Regions from separate parts of the Homo sapiens genome. Here regions 2 and 3 are each linked to region 1. Evidence: promoter capture Hi-C in human tissues and cell types (Jung and others, 2019). All regions are on one chromosome and are shown on one strand. Each heading gives the region's core, a stretch centred on a gene start or on the middle of the fragment in contact. The rest is flanking DNA. Distances are from core to core; before and after follow the strand shown.

Region 1 (3,194 bases), core at 472-2,971:
CTAAAAACACAAATTCTTATGCTTGAAAACCAGTAAGTTTTTGAAAAATCACACTCCTTTTAAATTTCCCACAATGGTTATATCCCTACAAAACTCACTCAAAGATGTTATCTGAGATACAACAGTACCTTTCAGAGGGGGTAAGAGATCTAAAAAACTTGGAACTTTAAAGGCCAGACTGAGCAGGGTAGCAGTATCACAGGAGAAAGCGCCTTCTACCAAAGACATCAAAATCCGTCCAGACACTTACCTTCAGGCGTTTGATCATCTCGTCCGTGGTGATCTTGTCGGTGATCTCTTTTACCCCCGGAGGGTAAGCGATCTTCCCGTCGGCACTCACGACGCCACAGAGGGCAGTGGCAGGCTTGGGCTGCGCGGTGAAGTCCATCCTGGGGGACAACTTTTGGTTCACAGTCCTCTACCGGCCTCTATCGGTCAGAAAACCAAAGTTCAGCGGGAAAGGGGCGACTTTGTAACCTCTTTTTTCATTTCAAATCTCTCTAATCTGGAAAAGGCCCTGTCTCCCCAGAGGCCGGGGACCCGGCAGCGGCCTCGCCACCCGCTCTTTCCCAGGGATCGAACCCCGCCGGCCCCGCCAACCCGGCCCTGCCAGCCCCAGGCTCACGGGGCTCCTCCGCACCAGCCGCCGTGGCCGCCGAACAGCGCCAGGAGTTTCCCATTCCGCCTTTCACAATGAAATCCACCCCCGAGCACCAGGGTCCGAAGTTTGGCGGCCCCGGGAGGCCGGCAAGGACCCCAAGGCCCCCGCTCGGCGGTGGGGAAGCACCCAGTCCCGCCCGGCCAGTCCCCTCCGGGAAACCAGACCCGAGGCCTATAGGGCTCGGCTTAGGCCGCAAAACTAGGGACCCAGCGGACCCACGCGCAGCGGCGGCTGCCGGGAACAAAACGCCCTTGCCCAGCCGAGCCTCGGACCCGGGGTAGTCCCCGCCGCGCTGCCACCCCTCCCCTGTTCCGCTCCCTCACCCCCGCGGGAGGGGAAAACAAGCCGCCCTCCACCCTCAGCCCCACGCCAGGAAGCGGCTGACGCGCCTCCGCACTTCACATTTTGTTCCTTCAACTTCGGCTGAGGGACCCCAGCTGCTTCTCTGGCCCCCGGCCGCTTGGCGCCTCCGGCACCGCCGAGGCCTTCCCGGCACCCTCGGGCGGCCCCACCGGGCCTCGGACCCGCGGCCCCCCCCTCCAGTCTCCCCTTCCGTCCCCTCCCTCCAGCAGCCTAGGGCGGGAGCCGAGCCGCCGCCGCCTTTACCTCCTCCTCATGCGGGCGGAAGGTGCATCGAGCGCCCGGGCCTCTGTCAGGTGGTTGCGCCGCCGCCCCTAGTCGGGCTGCACACAAAGCGGCTCCGCGGGTCCCGCCGCCGCCGCCGCCGCCGCCCGCCCGCCCGGGAGCGGCGCTGGGGCTGGCGGTGCCGAGGAGGAGCAGCCGCCGCGGGGGGAGACGCGGGGCGAGTGAGCGCTGGGCGGGGAGACAGTGCCGCTCTCCGTCTGGCCGAGGAAGAGCAGCCTCGAAGGCTCCTCCGGGAGTGTGTGCGCTTGTGTCCGTCCGGGACCCCCGCGGCCCGCCCGCACGCACCTCGCGCCGGCCCGGACCGCCGACTCGGACCCGGACGCCCCTCGCAGAGGCGCGCGCCCGGCCGTCCGTGCCCCGGGAGCCGGGGCCTCGCGCACACACCGGCCGGTCACGCGAGCGGCGCGAGAGCACGCGAGAGCAGCGCGCGCTCCTCGCTCCCTCCCCTTCCTCCGCCGGCCGTGCATCCGCCTCCCTCGGGCCCGAGGCGGCCGCGCGCAGGGCGGACAGCGCCGCCACCCGGTTGGCGCCAATACCTGCCGCGCGGGGCGCCTCCCGGAGGACCCGACCGGAGAGGGCGAGAGGAGGAGGAGCCCGGGTGGCGGGAAGCGAGCCCAGGTTCCCGCGGCCTTGCGAGGGCACGCAGGGCAAACAGTGCTTTATCTTTCGCAGCGGCGATGAGCTGGTGACTTTTGGGGGTCATCCTGAGGGACATAGACGAAACTGGTTGGGAGGTAGTTAATTGCTCGGTGAAAATGAACTGATTTCCTCCTCAGGGAGAGATCTGCAAAGTCAAGGAAAGTTGTGCAATGGGGCGCAGCGTGAGCGGCTCACTCTCGGGTCTTCTGACAGCCACCCGAGTTGCCCACCCTCCTTAGATTTCTGAAGTTAATATTTTGAAAGCTGCAAAACATGAAAATAGCATTGGGTCGAGTCGTTCTCAAGGTATGGTCTTTGGGCCACCAGGCCTCACAATCACTTTGGGTACTGGCTGAAAACGTAGGTTTCCAACTCCAAAGATTAAAAAACATAAAAATATATGTTTTTTTAACGTAAAAATATATATGAACATAAAACATATAAAAATATAACATATAAAATAAAACACTAAAAAATATAAAAATATACATAAACATAAAAATCTCTGAGAGTGGAACCCAGAAATAAGCATTTATTAATTGGGTGGGTGATTCTTGTAAATAAGGAAGAGCTCATTTTTTAAAAATGTTTTAAACCTACCAAGCATTAACGTTTTCTGTCATCCAAAGGAAAACCACTATCAGGTAAAAACAGTGCACGCAGCAGTGTTTGAGCAATTTAATGTATGTAATTGAAACAAATTAACGCAAGAACATACACTTACCTATTTAAAAAAAATCAAGAGCATACACAAAATTTCCGAAGAGAAAGTTGAAAAAAGGATACGATAATATGAAATCACATTCAGCTCTTGAAACTGACCACTACCATAGTTTAAAATGATATTCGATTGTTTATTCAAATTATTCTTGATGGGTACCCATTGGTCTATTTTTTTCCCACATCCTTTAACGTCAACTTAAAAATAGTAAAGGTACTGCATTTCAGCTCACTGACTTGTTTTTGACGTATTACACAAGAGCAGTCATTGCGAATCTGACACTCCACAGTTGCTGATTTGCTAGAACTCTGCCCAAAAGTCAATGCTTTGTTCTTGGGCATTTACAGTACCAGGCAGAATCCATTTAAAAGTGTCCTCATCCAAACTATTAAGTGGACCAAAAGCTGCTCTCTTTTTAGGCTCTCCCTGTCACTTTTGATATTTATTTTTTTCTTTTGAGACGGAATCTTACTCTGTCACCCAGGCTGGAGTGCAGTGGCGTGATATCGGCTCACTGCAAGCTCTGCC
Region 2 (3,194 bases), core at 317-2,816, 1.2 Mb before region 1:
CGAGCCACACAGCAGGAGGTGAGTGGTGGGTAAGCAAATGAAGCTTCATCTGTATTTACAGTCGCTCCCCATCGCTTGCATTACCACCTGAGCTCCACACCCTGTCATATCAGTGGCAGCATTAGATTCTCATAGGAGCTTGGACCCTACTGTGAGCTGCATATGGGAGGGATCTAGGTTGCGTGCTCCTTATGAGAATCTAATGTCTGATGATCTGTCACTGCTTCCCATCATGTCAGATGGGACCATCTAGTTGCAGGAAAACAGGCTCAGGGCTTCCACTGATTCTACATTATGGTGAGTTGTATAATTATTTCATTATATATTACAATGTCATAATAATAGAAATAAAGTGCACAATAAATGTAATGTGCTTGAATCATCCCGAAACCATCTCTCCTCCATCTCCAAACCCGGTCTGTGGAAAAACTGTCTTCCATGAAATTGGTCCTGGTGCCAAAAAGATTGGAGACCTCTGACCTAGAGGCCTTTTCTTGAAGTGAAGTGGTAAAATAAGCATGGTATTTTTTAAAATGTAGATCGCAAAGTACGGATCAATTTTTAAAGCAACATTTTTGAGGTTTTTTTCATACTTGACTTAAGATTTAGGTGACTGCTGGAGATCACGAGTAAAGAAGAAAATTTCCAGATGGATTTGTCTACAGGAGGAATGATCAATTTAAACATGAATGATTATAATAGATTTATGTCTTATAAAATTGGGGAGTGGGTGGGTTCTTAAAATACATTTTTTAACTATCATATTGGGGTTTTTAAATTTAAAATGTAGTCCATGTATTTCCACATATATTGTAGGGGGAAATCACACAAAATATAAATAACTGTAAAAAGAAAAACAACAGCAAAACAAAACCAGCTCTGCTCCTCACCTAAACATATACAAACATGTCTATATTACACAAACGTAGGAAGACAGGAACACCCGTCAGGAACGTTGGAGAGGGGATTCCCAGCTTGTTGGATGAACTAAGCTCTAAAATCTTTTTCATTTCAGAAATTCTCAAATTACTATGATCAGCACACTCACACTGTATATTGCCCTCTCAAGGAAAAATAATCACTTGGGGTTTTTGTTGTCCAAAGACATATTCTTCCTTTCCCCAGAGACCAACATGTTTAAATACTTTATTGTCAGAAAACGGAGAAGTTTTCTTTAAGTGTTTTTACATTTGTTTACCAAAAACAAGTTGAGCCAAGTAGAGTTGTTGCTTGTGTCATCTAATCATCATCATTAAGCTTGCATTTACTTCCTAAGTGCAGATAGTATTGCACACAAGATATTGGCTAATCACCACCACAAACTACATAGAACATATACTTTATTCCCATTCGCCAGATGGAAAAACTGGTTGAGAGAGAACAAAAAACTTGCACAAGGTCATCATCCAATAGGGGAGGGAGCCAAGATTCAAAACTAAGTAAGTCTGGTTCCAAAGCCCACAATTTTTTCACGACTCCAGATGCCCAAGAGGTTATGTAATACTCTCTCTGCCTTCACCTGAGATTTCTAAAACGTTTAAATCTTTATTCACAACTAGCAACCAAGAATAGTATGCTCAGAACCATATGTGCTGATAACTTTAAGATGTAATATTTTTATTCCTTTTTAAAAAACTTCCCCCTGCCCCTACACACATGCATGCACGCAGGCACGCGCACACACACGCACGCACACACACAAACACACAAACACACATTTCCCTCCTATGTCTTCCTCTGATACCAGACGTGGGCCAGCTGTGATTCTGCCTTCATATATGTTGCAATGAACAGAGAACCTTGGGTTACCACAAGGGGATGGAGGTTTATTTTAAAGACACTAGAGGCTGTAAGGAAACACAGCAGCACAGCCAGGCCCTCTAGAGACCTGGAGCAGTGGCTTCTGGGGACTCCCAGAGCAGCCGTGGTGGTCAGGCTGTCTGGTTGGGCTGCTCTCCACTTTAGCTATGACTTGACTTCTCTTTGACTCTTCCTCAATCTGCTTCTCTTTCTATTCCCCACTTCTCTTTATTGCTGCCTTTGCTTCTATATGTGTCTTCCTACAGCCTTTTCCCAGGCTCATGGCTTACAGTCAAGGGCTGAGGCCCGCTCTGAGAATACTTCCCCCAAGAAGGGAAATCTGATCAGATCTTTGCCTCACTATGCAAGATGGAGCGTCTCTATTGGGCAGAGGATTCATGACCACCTTACAGGCGGCTAGCTTATTTTATTTTTATTATTATTTTGAGATAGAGTCTTGCTCTGCTGCCCAGGCTGGAGTGCAGTGGCATGATCTCAGCTCACTGCAACCTCCTCCTCCTGGGTTCAAGTGATTCTCCTGCCTCAGCCTCCCAAATAGCTGGGATCACAGGCATGTGCCACCATGCTCGACTAAGTTTTGTATTTTTAGTAGAGATGGGGTTTGCCATCTTGGCCAGGCTGGTCTTGAACTCCTGACCTCAGGTGACCCACTCACCTCGGCCTCCCAAAGTGCTGGGATTACAGGTATGAGCCACCGCACCCAGTCTATTTTTATAGTTCTTGCCTTTAAGAGGGCCTTGGTCCCTGATCCAGGCAGGTAGGAAAGTTACATGACCTAGAGCTGCTCACGGGTAGAAGAAAGGGCCTGGGCTTGCATTCTCCCTAAGAGCACTGCGGGTGGTTCAGGGTCTAGTGTGGAGCACGTGTTAGCTGGGGAAAGCTCCTTTACTTTAATTACTGGTATCAGTAAGTGAAAATAGTAACAACTTTTTTTTTTTCTGAATCCTATTTCTGAAAAATAAATGAAAAGTAATAAAATTCTCACATGGTTAGAAAATTTAAATCATTTGTCATTCATTTACTACATTTGAGTATAAGGAGAACATTTTAGTTCAAACAAATAAAATGATCCTGGCCGGGCACAGCGGCTCATGCCTGTAATCCCAGCACTTTGGGAGGCCGAGGTGGGTGGATCACCTGAGGTCAGGAGTTTGAGACCAGCCTGGCCAACATGGTGAAACCCTGTCTCTACTGAAAATACAAAAAATTAGCCAGGCATGGTGGCATGCACCTGTAATCCCAGCTACTTGGGAAGCTGAGGCAGCAGAATTGCTTGAAGCTGGGAGGCGGAGGTTGCAGTGAACCAAGATCGCGCCACTGCACTCCAGCCTGGGCAACATGAGCAAAGCCCGTCTCAAAAAAAAAAAAAGAAA
Region 3 (3,194 bases), core at 389-2,888, 1.2 Mb before region 1:
CTGGTTACAGGATGGATGTTAATCACGTCTTTTTTGACAAGTTGATTTTCAGAGAAAATTTGGTGCTGAATTTTTTTCCACTGATCTTTTCAAGCTTTCTTCAAAACATATTTTTGTAAACCCTAAGTGAAAAATATGCTAAGAAGAAAAGAGATTCTTAGCGTGTTTTTCACATAGGGTTTATAAAAATCCTGGGGTTTGTTGACAGCATGTTCAAGGAAGACATTCTGATAGCTCTACTCTTGCCTTTTCCAGTAATGACAACAACAAAATAACAACACAATAAATGGGCAAATAAAGCTATGGGATTCCAGCTGACTGCCTCTGAAGTTGATCTCAGCCTGCATGGTGTCCAGTCAAAACCGGATGTGGGGATGACAAAACTGCCTCCCTTCCTTCCCTCCACGGTTCTCTCCCGTAATCAGCTTTTCTACCACACAGCGAGCAAGGCCAACTTCCCTAAACTAAGAATGCTGAGATTCTTTTCGACTTATAATGTTCTGACTGTCTCTCTCTGTTTCCCCTTACCTCAGAATTTGTTTAATAGAGGAAATATGTTATGTCTACAGATATTTTCTGAAACTGAAAGAATGAAACCACCCACCTGCCATTTCCTCCCTGAGACCCATAACTGGACAGGAGGGAGGTGTCTTTGACTAAGAATTTAGTTCCTGGCTCCCAAAGGCATTGACTTTGTGAATCCAGGCTGAGGGAGCAATGCCCAGGGGAGGGAAGTGGGCAGGGCAGTAAGGGAAGCTTCTCAGCACTCTGAATTCCTGTTTTTCCCCACAGACTCATCCCCACTACTCCCAGTTGTGTACATGATTACAAGTGTGTGTGTCTCTGCCCACCCCTAGCCCATACCTGGGCATTTCTTTTTGGATTCAGGGCAGTAAAAATATGCTGTCAATTAGATGTAATCTGTAGTTAGTTGTGTTTTTTTTTAACAAAACCTTATTGATATATAATTCACAAACCATAAAAAATTTCACCTTCCATAAAAAATTTCACAAACGATAAAAAATACACCCGTTTAAAGTGTATAATTCAGGCCGGGCATGGTAGCTCATGCCTACAATCCCAACACTTTGGGAGGCTGAGGCAGGCAGATCACCTGAGGTCAGGAGTTTGAGACCAGCCTAGTAGAGAAGGCGAAACCCCGTCTCTACTAAAAATAAAAAAAATTAGCCGGACGTGGTGGCACATGCCTGTGATCTCAGCTACTTAGGAGGCTGAGGCAGGAGAATCGCCTGAACCCAAGAGGCGGAGGTTGCAGTGAGCCAAGATCACACCACTGCACTCTAGCCTGGGTGACAGAGCAAGACTCTATCTCAAAAAATAAATAAATAAATAAATAAATAAATAAATAAATAAATAAATAAAATAAAGTGTCTAATTCGGAGGCACCTACCTGCCTCTTTTTCCCCCTGCTGTCCAGTGGGTCACCACAGAACAAACACACACTTGTAATCATGTACACCCATCAATCAACAAACACACACTTCCCCTCTACCTCTACACCTCTACCTCTACCTACCTCTACCCCTACCCCTACCCCTACCCCTACCCCTACCCCTACCTCTACCTCTACCTCCACGGTCTCCCTCTGATGCCGAGCCGAAGCTGGACTGTACTGCTGCCATCTCGGCTCACTGCAACCTCCCTGCCTGATTCTCTGCCTCAGCCTGCGGAGTGCCTGCCATTGCAGGCGCACGCCGCCACGCCTGACTGGTTTTTGTATTTTTTTGGTGGAGACGGGGTTTCGCTGTGTTGGCTGGGCTGGTTTCCAGCTCCTAACCGCGAGTGATCCGCCAGCCTCGGCCTCCTGAGGTGCCGGGATTGCAGACGGAGTCTGGTTCACTCAGTGCTCAATGTTGCCCAGGCTGGAGTGCAGTGGCGTGATCTCGGCTCGCTGCAACCTCCACCTCCCAGCTGCCTGCCTTGGCCTCCCAAAGTGCCGAGATTGCAGCCTCTGCCCGGCCGCCACCCCGTCTGGGAAGTGAGGAGCGTCTCTGCCTGGCCGCCCATCGTCTGGGACGTGAGGAGCCCCTCTGCCTGGCTGCCCAGTCTGGAAAGTGAGGAGCATCTCTGCCTGGCCGCCATCCCATCTAGGAAGTGAGGAGCGCCTCTTCCCGGCCGCCATCCCATCTAGGAAGTGAGGAGCGTCTCTGCCCGGCCGCCCATCGTCTGAGATGTGGGGAGCACCTCTGCCCCGCCGCCCCGTCTGGGATGTGAGGAGCGCCTCTGCCCGGCCGCCCATCGTCTGAGATGTGGGGAGCGCCTCTGCCCTGCCACCCCATCTGGGATGTGAGGAGCGCCTCTACCCGGCCGCGACCCCGTCTGGGAGGTGAGGAGCGTCTCTGCCCGGCCGCGCCGTCTGAGAAGTGAGGAGACCCTCTGCCTGGCAACTGCCCTGTCTGAGAAGTGAGGAGCCCCTCCGCCAGGCAGCCACCCCGTCTGGGAAGTGAGGAGTGTCTCCGCCCGGCAGCCACCCCGTCCGGGAGGGAGGTGGGGGACAGCCCCCGCCAGGCCAGCCACCCCATCCGGGAGGGAGGTGGGGGGGTCAGTCCCCCGCCCGGCCAGCCGCCCCGTCCAGGAGGGAGGTGGGGGAGTCAGCCCCCGACCTGGCCAGCCACCCGGTCCGGGAGGTGAGGGGCGCCTCTGCCCAGCCGCCCCTACTGGGAAGTGAGGAGCCCCTCTGCCCGGCCAGCCGCCCCGTCCGGGAGGGAGATGGGGGGGTCAGCCCCCCACCCGGCCAGCCGCCCCGTCCAGGAGGGAGGTGGGGGAGTCAGCCCCCCACCCGGCCAGCCGCCCGGTCCGGGAGGTGAGGGGCGCCTCTGCCCGGCTGCTCCTACTGGGAAGTGAGGAGCCCCTCTGCCTGGCCACCTCCTCGTCTGGGAGGTGTACCCAACAGCTCATTGAGAACGGGCCATGATGACAATGGCGGTTTTGTGGAATAGAAAGGGAGGAAAGGTGGGGAAAAGATTGAGAAATCGGATGGTTGCCATGTGTGTGCAGAAAGAGGTAGGCATGGGAGACTTTTCATTTTGTTCTGTACTAAGAAAAATTCTTCTGCCTTGGGATCCTGTTGATCTGTGACCTTACCCCCAACCCAACCCTGTGCTCTCTGCAACATGTGCTGTGTCCACTCAGGGTTAAATGGATTAAGGGCGGTGCAAGATGTGCTTTGTTAA

What was found. The method cuts DNA at HindIII sites, captures the fragments that hold promoters and counts their contacts. A contact is called where the count stands out against the background at its distance.
Region 2: a fragment that was not itself captured here is called in contact with the fragment with the promoter of PDS5A in region 1 in 1 of the 25 tissues and cell types used here (lymphoblastoid cells).
Region 3: a contact is called between a fragment that was not itself captured here and the fragment with the promoter of PDS5A in region 1, in 1 of the 25 tissues and cell types used here (spleen).

Annotation. Positions count from the first base shown.
Region 1 is chr4:39,976,190-39,979,383 of GRCh38, forward strand. It overlaps PDS5A (PDS5 cohesin associated factor A), which reads right to left and starts at 1,722. Exons shown (of 33, transcript NM_001100399.2): 1 at 1,268-1,722; 2 at 251-428. The coding sequence starts at 388. RefSeq lists an enhancer at 61-969 and silencers at 507-1,256, 1,307-1,946. The HindIII fragment of the contact is 8,894 bases long and covers 1-3,194 here.
Region 2 is chr4:38,784,283-38,787,476 of GRCh38, forward strand. No RefSeq gene overlaps it. Among named protein-coding and RNA genes, the nearest start is that of TLR10, 2.9 kb to the left of the region's middle. The HindIII fragment of the contact is 4,349 bases long and covers 1-3,194 here.
Region 3 is chr4:38,805,275-38,808,468 of GRCh38, forward strand. It overlaps a transcript of TLR1 not described here. Among named protein-coding and RNA genes, the nearest start is that of TLR1, 2.1 kb to the left of the region's middle. RefSeq lists an enhancer at 348-517. The HindIII fragment of the contact is 5,621 bases long and covers 1-3,194 here.